3 separate regions of the Homo sapiens genome follow, and all the other regions are linked to region 1. Evidence: promoter capture Hi-C in 16 types of primary human blood cells and fetal thymus (Javierre and others, 2016). All regions are on one chromosome and are shown on one strand. The core of a region is centred on a gene start or on the middle of the fragment in contact, and the rest is flanking DNA. Distances in the headings are between cores, read along the strand shown.

Region 1 (3,793 bases), core at 601-3,100:
CTCCTGGATTCCTGAGACAGATCTGCGGATAAACCCACATATGGACAAAGACTCTTCCTCTTAGAGTCTGACCTGCTCTGACCCCAAAGTTCTCTAGGTACATTCCTACTACTTTTGGCCTGGGTCACTTCAGCCTCTGGGACTTTCTGATTGTTCCTCACCCAGATGTCCTCATGGCTCCTTCTCTCACCCCCTTCAGCTCTTTGCTCAATGGTCAACTTCTCCAGAAAGGCCTTCCCTGACCACATCATAAAATCGCACCACCTTCCCCCACCAACATGCCCCACCTTCCTCCTCTGCTTGATTTTTCTCCATAATACTGAGCACCACTGATACTTTAATCAGTGCACTGTCTGTCTTCCCACCACTGAAATGTAAGTGTCACAAGGGCACAGATTGCCATCTATTTTGTCCACTGCTCTCTCCCCTGCTCCCAGAATAGTGTCTGACACTAAGTAGGTATGCAGTAAATACTTTTTGCAATGAAGGAAATGACTCACACATACTCAGAGGCCCAGAACACAGAAGTTAGAAGGAACTTTAGCATTTTACAGGTGAGGAGCCAGAGATGAGACCTGCCCTAGGCAATGCTTCTAGTTAGCACCAGAGTTGGAAACATGTTGAGTAAAGCAAGGCTTTCCATTCATTCACAGTAACCCTCCCACACATACACAAGCCCACACAGACCATTTGGCACAACCTCAGCAGACTAGAAGATGAGATGATGGGGTTCAGTTTAGAGGCTCCCCAGCCCTCCACTGCTTATCAGCTGACTTAGTTCTCACTCTGATTCTGACTCCCCCAGAGCTGACTGACTCTGGCTCCCCCAGGGCAAGCTGCCTCCACTGGCAAAGGCTGCCATACAGAACCCAAGAGGAAGAGAAGCTAAAAGCCAGGAGGAGGAAAGGGAGGAGGAGTGGGAAGAGGAAGAGTCGGGGGAGCACAAGAGTGTTGAAGAGGAAAAGGCTGGCAACCTGGGGGAATAGGCCCGGCAGCTTCTAAGCACAAGCGACCCACCAGACGCTCCCTGCAAGCACGAATCAAACCAAAGCCAGCTACCCTGCCACCTGAACTTTCAAGACACCTACACCAAGATTAAAAGGCAGCTCCAGGAGACACAGCTCTGACAGCCTTCTTGCCTCTCAAACCTCCAGGTTCAGGCATGAGGACAAGGTTTCAGAGCTGCTGCCAGGCCGCTCGGCTGGCTGGACAGCACCAGCACTGGCTTAGGGAGCCGTATAAGGGAAGGAGGTGGGGGTGGGAGGGCTGGCAAGAGCCAGCGCACCCTGCCAGCCTTTGCCTTTTGCATGACTTGCCGGGAATGCCCCCATCAGACCAGCAGAGAGACAGGTGGACTCCAAGGTGGATTGGAGGAGAGAATGGGCAGCGCAGTGGGAAAGGAAGAATTTCATAGGAACAAGGAGGGTTTGAAGAATCAGCAAGACAGAGGGGACCCAGCACAGAGAAGTGGCTGGGGGGAATAAAAACAAATTCACGTTACCTTCCAGCCGTCCCTCTGGACCAAAAGGTACGGGGCTCCCCGCAGCAAAGCAATAGCAGAGGCTCCAGAAACAGAGCAGAGGAACGGAGTTGCTCATCCTGCCCCGCCACACCCCCTCCCAAGAAACAGAAGTTTTAAAAAACAAAAACCACCTCTTGGTGTTTCCAGCAATCCCGGCCGGTAAGACCCTTCTCTCGGCCAGGGGCTGGGGGACTGGAGGCAGAGAAGGTGGAAAATGAAAACTTGGCGGCACGGAGCCCGGGCGGTGGCAGGGAGCGAGTGTCAACGGCTTGCCCCAGAACGAGATCTGCCCTCGTCCTGAGCCGCCGGGAGGCAAGGACTCGCTGCTGTCACGCTCCTATAGAGGTAGTTTTTAAAAGTATGGGAGTCATCTGACCCATCGCCAGATGGTGATTTGCATAATTTATTCCCGTCTCTGGGCTCTGATTGGTCACACCTTGCTGACGCCGGAACCGAGACTGGAGAAAGTTTGAATGAAAGCGCTGCACACTCACCGCGTGGACGCCGCACGCTCGGCCCCGCTTCCTCCCGGGCCCGCTCCGCAGGCAGCTGCGACTCCAGCAGCTCCAGCTTTCTCCCACTGCCCTCCTCCGGACACCCAGATCCTCCTCTCCCCACTGCCATCCCAAGTGGCGGAGGCGGACATTTCCCTGAAACTCTGCGTCCGCTGGGGAGGCGATCCCTGGAGAAGGAGAGCATCCTCTCCAAGGCTCAAAGCCACACTCTCTCTGGGAGTGGTCTATCCGCTCCCTGGGCCGGGAGTCCGTCGGGGGAGAGCCACCTGGTCATCCCCTTTGTCCTCCTCTTCTCCCTCCCTTCCCGCCTAGCGAGGGCCGCAACAGGTGCAGAAGGCGCGGCCGCACAATAACCCGGCGGAGCTAAGGGGCTGTGAGCTGCGGCCGGCGCTGGAGGATCGCACAGTACCTGCTCGGAATGCTCGCTCCGCCACTAGCTGCAAAACTCCAAGCGAGCCAGCCAGCTTCTCCGAGGCGGTTCTCTCGTCCGCAATACGTGGGTGATAATGTATCGGCGGCTTAGGGATGTTGGGAAAACTAAGAGTTCACGTAGCAAAGCACTTAGCGAGGCGCGGAGCTCGTGGCAGGCGCTCTCCTACGGTGGGGTGGAGGGCTACGGGAACACCAGGCGACCTCCTCAAAGGGACCAGTGAGCCGAGATTTGGAGTCTAAGACGCGTGGCCAGAGCCCAGTGTCTGCCGATGAGCACTCACTCCTTGGCGAGTGAAATCAAGCATCTCCTTTCTCTCTGTTCTCCATCATTTCCTCCCGGCTCTCCTTCCCTTTATTGATCCGGGTCCTGCGGCAGAAAGCAGCGAGCGGAGGGAGAACTTGGCCCGGAGTCTGCGTCTGGCGCTGGGGAGCGGGGACTGAGCCCGGAACACCGACGGGGCGGCTGCGCCAACAACCACTGCGGACGCAGGGCGGGTACGAGAGGCTGAGAGGCTGCGTCCCGCCATCCAGCCTCGCTCCAGCCGGGAGGATCCGGCTCTTTAAGACGATACCCTTAACCCTGCAGTCGCCCGGAACAGGTCCTGCCCCTGCCTGGGGAGGGAAAACCCCCACAGCAGTCCCGCGCCCCTTCCTCCCTAGCGTCGAGGATCCAGCTGGAGAGACCTGTGCGAGGAAACCGAGCCGGAGCCAGCAGATCCTGTTCCGACCTCGCCTCATTACTTTTGTTACTCCAGCTGCCAGCAGAGCACGCTTTGTCCCTCCCGTGTGCTATCATTCATTAACAAGACTCAGGCGGGCTTTAGTTTTTTAGTATAGAACTCAATGGTCTGTGTGCGATGGTAAATATCACCCCCGGATATGTTGTTCCCACTCTGTCTCTCTCTTCATGAGGAAACTATACAGACATAGGTCTAATGTTATCTCCATTTTACAGATGGGAAAACTGAGTCATGGGGACAGGCTGCAGATTTGAAGAAAGTCTCAAGACAACCAGGTCTCTCTTCTCTGCTCTAGGTTCAATTTGGCCAATTGACCTTTAAATGTGAGCTCTTGGCAACCTGGTCTAGTGGCTGAGGCAGGGGGTAAGCTGTAGTCAAAAGTCCTCTTCCCTAACCCTGGCAACATAGACACTCATCTCTACCAAAAAAAATTTTTAAATTAGCCAGGCAAGGTGGTACACCTGTAGTGCAAGCTATTAATACTTGGGAGGCTGAGGCGGAAGGAGTCCTTGAGCCCAGGAGTTCAGGGCTGCAATGTACCATGATCACACCACTACACTCCAGCCTGGACATCAGAAGAAAAA
Region 2 (3,793 bases), core at 936-3,435, 340 kb before region 1:
GTGGGCCAGGGACATCAAGTCCCTTGCCAAAGTCACATAAATAGAAAGTGCTGGGACCAGGATCCTACCCGAGCTCTGATCCCACAGCCATAATGGGGGCATTGCGGGTTTTTTAACCCCAAACATTACTGAAGGGTTTCAGTCCTTTCCCGTGCATGCCTACTGCTGCGTTTGGCTCCCAGAGTTGAATGGAGGCCCACTGTTACTTTGTCCATGCAGGGTGTAGAGGTGGCCACAGAACCAGGCTTCTGAGGTGCCCCAGAGGGTGCCTCCTAGGGAAGGAAAGGACATGAAGAGTGTGTGTGGCATGGAGAAACAGAATTTTAGAGTGGGTATGGCTTTGTAAGTCATTGGGATTTAATGTATCTATTCTATACTGGGCATTTTTAAAGCTTCTCATGACCCAGTAGGGCAGGAAAAAAGCATTTTACACCTAAGCCAGCTGCCCTGAACAGGAGCCCAAAAGTGGTGCAGAGATAGCAATAGAATGCCTCTGTTTCCGTGCTCTTGCAAAAGACAAGGCTTTCTGAGAAGAGACTGTCACTGGGTGTTTCTCTGTGTTAGTTCTACAGGGTGCCTTGTTTGGCTTGGCTCCTTACTGGGGAAGCAAAGCAGAGAGCCCAGGCACAGGGTGGGCACAGGGCTTGTGCCTGCCCCTGGTCAGCCTGCTGTGATACACCAGGTCAGGGAGGAGGGCACATCCACTCAGAGGGAAAAGAGTGCAAAGGAAAAGGTCTGCTGTCTGGCACTGGCCCTTTGAAAAACACAAGCACAAAGCATGCCAAGGTGGCAGTGGCTATTGTGGCTGTTGACAGGAAGAAAAGACTTGCTTAGTCAAATGTTGTGAGTTAACCTTCCAGCCAGAGTGCAGTCTCAGGGATGAGTAGGCATTGACCGCTGCACCCTGCTGGGAGCCCTGTGTACATGCTGGCTCCCCCAGGCCTTGCTTTCCAGCCTTGGGGCTCTGCATTGGCATTGCTGATTTCTAAAGTTAACTTGAGAGGATAAAAATAAATCTAGCATTTTACAATCCACGTGCTTGAAAAATCAAAGAAAAGCAGATTTAAATGGCCTATTTAAAAAAAAAATAAAAAAAGCTTTTTGCCTTAAGCTTCCTGCTTGGCAAACATCTGTGAGTGGTGGCAGGTGTTAGCTACCCTGGGCAGGATGCCCTGTGTGTAGAGGGTGATCAGAAAAGACGGGAGGAGTGGATAAGCTCTTGCTTTCTTGTGCCCTTGCCTGCACTACCTGACTAGGCACGCTGTGCTCTTCTCACGTATTAACTCATTTAATCCCCACCAGAACCCTAGGAGATAAACATTAATATTATTCCCATTTTAAGGATGAAGAAACTGAGGCACACAGAGGTTAAGTAGCTTGACTGAGGTCACACAGCTAGTAAGTAGCATGGCTGGGATTGAAACCTGTCAGGCTGGTTTCAGGGTATGTTCTGCCACCTCTGACCAAGCTATAAGATATTTAGCTATTGGGAGACTCTTGGAACATGTCAGGAGAACTCCTCAGTCCAAGGGAGACTCTTAGCCTTAGTTTGGGTTCATGCTCATACAGATAGCATTGTCCTTGCTTGGGACCGGCTGGCATTTAAAGTGGGGAGTGTGACCCAGTGTCAAATAACATGCTTGACACTCTGTTACAAGAGGAAGCATTGACATAATCTCCATTAGAGCTCTATATAGGGGCTTGTTTCATTGCAATCTCTTAGCAGATGGGGCCAGCTGTTTGCAAGTGAATTTTTTTTTTCCTATAATTCCTGGAGACAACTTAGGCAGTGGTCCTCTGGTCACACAAGGTTTCTAAGCCAGAAGGGGAGGATCTGCGAACACCAAGGACACCACAGGTGAAGGTGTCCCAAGGTATTTGTGAGAACAGCATAGGGAGTAGACAGAGTGCCCACTGGACAGAGGCCTGGGTTCTGTCTCAGTTGTATTCACAACCAGAGCTGATAGCTTGGAAATGATTGGGGCTTTAGTTCTTCCAAGGGGATTCGCCTGAGATCTCTAAGGTAACATCTAGCTCAAAAATTCACTGATAACCATGATCTGGCTAGAGTAGGGTTCCTATCCCCAGACTGTGCTCTAGAATCCCCTGGGGAGCTTTTTTCTAAAAATGTATCCTCACTGCCAAGAAGTCAGTAAGGGAGGAAACAAAGATAAAACCAGGGTAAGGCTAGCACCCAACATTCATATCCTAAGGCCTTGTACACCCACCTGGAAAGAAAAGATGCAAATTTGGCACCAAGTTTCTATGCAAACAGTAACAGGAAGAAAACTGAGTGGCTTGAGAGTTCTTAATAGAAAAGAACCATGCAGTTCAAGAGGATTTGGAGCTGTCCGTGGTGCTGACTTGTTTTTCCTGTGGGCTTTCATAATCTGTGACGTGACAAGCCACATCCTTCACCATATCCTACGGTGATATATACAATGCTGGTTCTTGAGACCATTTCTTGCAGTGTCCCTGGGATAGGCTGTGGTATGACGTCATTCAGTAAAACGATGTAGTCCGTGAACTCGGCTCTCTGCCAGCCTAACTTTAGTCAAGCACACATTTAGAGTTGGCCAGTTTAACTTACAATTTATTTATAATGAGAGTAAAGTTCCTTAGACACTTATGAATATAAGGTTATCCTTAAATATATTTTATATGAGAAATATGACACAAATATATGGAGTCAGTAGCCTTTTAAATCAATTTGATTCCATATACTTAGTAGTCACTTTGTAAATATGTTAAATTCGTTATATGTAATCATGCATATATGTCATATACAGTCATGCATCTGTTAATGACAGGGGTACCTTATGAGAAATGCATCGTTAGGTGAGTTTGTAGTTGTGTGAACATCATAGATTTCGCTTACACAAACCTAGATGGTGTAGCCTGCTACACACCTAGGCTATGTGGCATAGCCTATTGTTCCTAGGCTACAAACCTGTACAGCATGTTACTGTACTGAATATCATAGGCAGGTGTAACACAATGATATTTGTGTATCTAAACGTATCTAAACATAGAGAAGGGATAATAAAAATATGGTGTAAAAGATGGCACACCCGTATAGGGCACTTACCATGAATGGGGCTTGCAGGCCTGGAAGATGTGTAGGGTGAGTGAATGTGAAGGTCCAGGACATTACTTTCCACTCCTGTAGACTTTATAAACTGTCCACTCCTATCGACTTTATAAACTGTCCACTCCTGTAGACTTTATAAGCCGTACACTTAGGCTACACTAAGCTTACTAGAAAATTGCTTTTCTTCAATAATTAACCTTGGAGTACTGTAATATTTTTACTTTATAAATAATACTTTTAACTTGTGGCTTCTTTGTAATAAGGCTTAGCTTAAAACACAAACATGTACAACTCTACAAAAATTTTTTATTTCTTGATATCCTTATTCTGTAAGCTTTTTTCTATTTTTAAAATTTATTTTTGGGGTATCCCATTCTTCATGATGTGCTTATTTCACATTGCATATCTATCAAAACATTTTATATACCCCATACATATACACACCTACTATGTACCCAGGAAAATTAAAAATTAAGTTTAAAAATTTTTTTTTACTTTTTTTTGTTAAAAACTAAGACACGGATACATTCATTAGCCTAGACACACACAAGGTCAGGATCGTCAGTATCACTGCCTTCCACCTCCATATCTTGTTCCACTGGAAGGTCTTCAGGGCAGTAACATGGCAGGGAGGGTTTCTGGGGTCTCCGAGGGTGTGGGCACCCCATGCCCTGCCCTCTGCCAGGCTTGGCTGCATGGCTG
Region 3 (3,793 bases), core at 118-2,617, 280 kb before region 1:
TTTATCTCTTTTTCTGTAATATGTTGTATTTTTTCCCAAATTTTAATACATAATAAATGTAAACTCAAAAGGTACAAATGCATATACAGTGAAAAAGCATAACCCTCTTAACCTATTATGAACTTGATTCATGGAAAAAAGCAGGAGTGTTCATGCGAAAGGACACAGCAGTCGGCACGATGCATCAGTATTTATTAGACACTTGCTTTGAACCAAGCAGTGTACTTGGGCACTGAACATGAAATCAGAATTGAGAAATGAGAGCAGTTACATTTTCAATCGGAAGAAAAATTATGTGTAGATGCATTACTCACTGTGCTCTGCAAAGGCTGGGAAGGAAAGTGTACCTGGACCTATTCATAATGCTTTCCCCAGGTTCTTACAACACAAGTAGGTTATGAGTGAATCCCAAGAAGGACCAATCTAGAAATACATTACTTGAAATGAGGTTCATTCCAAACCCTCCTTCCTGTCTGGAAATCTTTTTATAAGGCACCAGACAGAGGGAGAACTGACATATCAAGCTGGAGATACTCAGAATAATGTGAAGGTTAATAGCAGCAGTTCTGGAGTCAGACAGACTTGGGTTTAAATCCTGGCCCTGCCACTCCCTATCAGTGTGACCTCAGACAAGTTATTTAACCGCTTTATACCTCAACTTCCTCATAAAAATGGGTAGTACTTTATAGAGTTGTTGGAAGATTGAAAGAGATACTGAACATAAAGCCCCTGGTGCATAGGTAATGGCTGCTTAGTAAGTATGACGGACCAATGAAGCTCTTATTTACATAGTCAGTGGCTGGACGAGGATGACACCCAGGTTGCTCAATTCTCAAACTGTGGACTTCAGCACAGGCGATACCAAATCGAGCTGGTACATGCCCATCATCTTTGTCTAATTGCCAGTAAATTAAATGAAAATGCTGTCCACAGCTGTTTTATTCCATACAGAAATCAACACATTAGAAATTTTTTGCCAAATGTTATAAGTTCCTAAGCATGTCAACATTGCACACCTCTGGATGGTATCATTGCTAAAGCCCGGAGCACTAAATGATTTGAGTGGTCCAATCTTTGCATTGTTAGTGGGGAATGCAAGCTTCTCTAACTGTGCTTTTATTTCAGTTTCTGCCATGTTGGAAAATGAGAGCATTCAGGGTCTATCTGGTGTGAAGCCCACCGGCTACCGGAAGCGCTCCTCCAGCATGGCAGATGGGGATAACTCATACTGCCTGGAAGCTATCATCCGCCAGATGAATGCCTTTCATACAGTCATGTGTGACCAGGGCTTGGACCCTGAGATCATCCTGCAGGTATTCAAACAGCTCTTCTACATGATCAACGCAGTGACTCTTAACAACCTGCTCTTGCGGAAGGACGTCTGCTCTTGGAGCACAGGCATGCAACTCAGGTAAGGGAGGAGCACCCCCCAACAACACAGATAGAGTGGGCCCTCACTGACTGCAGCTAGAATCAGAACACAAGACTGCTGTTTCTAAAAATGAAATCCAAATCTAATTGACAGTCCTTGTCTCCATCAGTCTGTGACTCAAATCCATCACCTTTTTACCTGTTGGTGAAATCCGTCGAACACTGAGATGGTTGACTTGGTAAACAAATTAGTTCAAAGCTTAAAGATGTTGACATACTCTAAGTTAAAGACTGAATACAAAGCAGATAGGTCAGAGAGAAAACTCAATGAGTTAAGAGGCATGAAGGCTCACATAGAAGTATAAATACATTTGTGAATGTTAAATATAAATACTTACAATTCAGTATATTTAATGCCTGTTTTTCCCTGTTAACTTATGTAGACACTTCAGGTATTTCATCTTTGCTTGATTTTAAGTACCCACTCATTCATTTATTCATTCTTTATTCAACAAATAGTTCCTGAGTGCAAGGCACTTGCCATGCTTTTTAACCGTGTGAGATAAATAATGGCACTAGCTGCAGCGGGCCTGCAAAACACAACAGGTGTCCCCTTCTCAGTGAATTAGGAGGACCGGCTTAACATAGCTTGCTTTCTACCTATGGCTAAGGTACAATATAAGTCAGCTTGAGGAGTGGCTTCGGGGAAGAAACCTTCACCAGAGTGGAGCAGTTCAGACCATGGAACCTCTGATCCAAGCAGCCCAGCTCCTGCAATTAAAGAAGAAAACCCAGGAGGACGCAGAGGCTATCTGCTCCCTGTGTACCTCCCTCAGCACCCAGCAGGTACAGTCACTTTGCACCTCTGTCAACATGGTATTCCAAGGAAGCCCTGAGTCCATTCCAAGTCTGTTCTCGTTGGTGGTTATTTGTTAGTGTTGCACTCCCACCCTTTATATACCCCTAATGAGACAATTTTGAAGTGCAGCTGATGGGATATTCCTAGATGAACCAAAAACCATTTGGTCTGTGAAACAAGATGCCACAGATACTGTTTTCTAGTAACTCTCTATCCCTCTTACTCACTTAAAAAGATAAGGTAGCAAACTCACAAAACGTTAAGTTTAGGTAAAAACTTCTTTAAATATAATGAATTCTGGAATGTTTCTTACATAGAAATCCACAAATTTTCAGAAATTGGCAGCATCAGGTATTTGCTTTCTTTACAAATATAACTGTAAGAAAAACCTTTTCTTTAAAACTAATTGCAATATGGTCATATTTTCACTCACACTCATTTATATTGTTTTAAATGAAGTCATTAAGAACTTAGGGGCATTTAAGTGTTACTTTCCTTTTCCCTAAAAAATGTATAACCATGATTCAGTTGCCGACACATTGCCAGTCCCTGAAAGATAAATAACAAAATCCAAACTCAGTACAGAAAAACACATCTTAATATAGCAAAGTGAACACCTTTCCTTACCTCCTCTGCTTACTATTAAAATATTAAATATCTAACTCTTTAAAAAACTGCTTCCTTCTGTAAACATTTCCAGAAAGTCTTCAAACATTTTTCTTCTCTTTAAATACATTTCACTTAAAGTAAGTTTCCTTCTAGATGCAGCTGGCATTGCATTTGGGCAGTCTACTTCCACCAAACCAGTGGTAGGCAGACAAAAGAGTATCTCCTGTTCAAATACTCATTTGTAAACAATGTTGGGGGACAGGGGGTAGTTAGGTATTAAACAAGACCTTTCTCATCTAAGGTAAGATCTCCAGTACTCTTCAGAAGAAACCTTTAAATTACTAGTAGATATGAGGCTGAGGATTTCAGGCAACTGCATTCTAAACTCCTCATTGTGTATACCAATGAGCATAGTGGGGAGGGGCAGGTGGGTTTACAGGAGACATGAGTTCGGTGAGAGGGCTCAGATCCACCTGACAAAGCTGTGGGCTCTAGTTTCCTGGATGCAGGCTCCAAGTGTAAATGTCAGTCCAGCTCCATCTGTGTTGTGGGCCTTGTCTAAAGAGGATCATACTCTTGTACCAATGTCACATATTCTTTAAAGTTCAAAAGTTGTCTCATGTTCATTTAGCTCTGTGCTAAATTCCGTTTTTATCCCCAACAGATTGTCAAAATTTTAAACCTTTATACTCCCCTGAATGAATTTGAAGAACGGGTAACAGTGGCCTTTATACGAACAATCCAGGTGAGTTTTAAGATAGTAATTTTATAAAGTCCAGTCTACGACTATAAAGGAAATTAAAAATTTGGGCTTTAATCTTGCTTCTCTTTATTACTAAAATACTGGTTACATATATGCTGGGAGACCTTACATTCCTAGACTTTCTACTTAGGTAAACATGAACCGTATCACCCATGAGTAACTTACTGTTTACACACAGAAAACTCAACTTT

What was found. Contacts are between HindIII fragments. The CHiCAGO score rates a contact against its expected background, and 5 or more counts as called.
Region 2: a contact is called between a fragment that was not itself captured here and the fragment with the promoter of LIPG in region 1, in 2 of 17 cell types (naive CD4 T cells and erythroblasts). The highest score is 5.6, in naive CD4 T cells.
Region 3: a contact is called between a fragment that was not itself captured here and the fragment with the promoter of LIPG in region 1, in 1 of 17 cell types (endothelial precursors). The highest score is 5.8, in endothelial precursors.

The regions. Positions count from the first base shown.
Region 1 is chr18:49,560,114-49,563,906 of GRCh38, reverse strand. It overlaps LIPG (lipase G, endothelial type), which reads right to left and starts at 1,850. Exons shown (of 10, transcript NM_006033.4): 1 at 1,502-1,850. The coding sequence starts at 1,598. RefSeq lists an enhancer at 1,143-1,643. The HindIII fragment of the contact is 7,229 bases long and covers 1-3,793 here.
Region 2 is chr18:49,897,223-49,901,015 of GRCh38, reverse strand. The region is part of intron 21 of MYO5B (myosin VB); the gene reads left to right. Among named protein-coding and RNA genes, the nearest start is that of SNHG22, 85 kb to the right of the region's middle. RefSeq lists a silencer at 2,243-2,537. The HindIII fragment of the contact is 2,143 bases long and covers 1,114-3,256 here.
Region 3 is chr18:49,835,135-49,838,927 of GRCh38, reverse strand. It overlaps MYO5B (myosin VB), which reads left to right. Exons shown (of 40, transcript NM_001080467.3): 37 at 1,126-1,411; 38 at 2,043-2,217; 39 at 3,504-3,584. All of the region lies in intron 1 of SNHG22 (small nucleolar RNA host gene 22), which reads right to left. Among named protein-coding and RNA genes, the nearest start is that of SNHG22, 23 kb to the right of the region's middle. The HindIII fragment of the contact is 531 bases long and covers 1,102-1,632 here.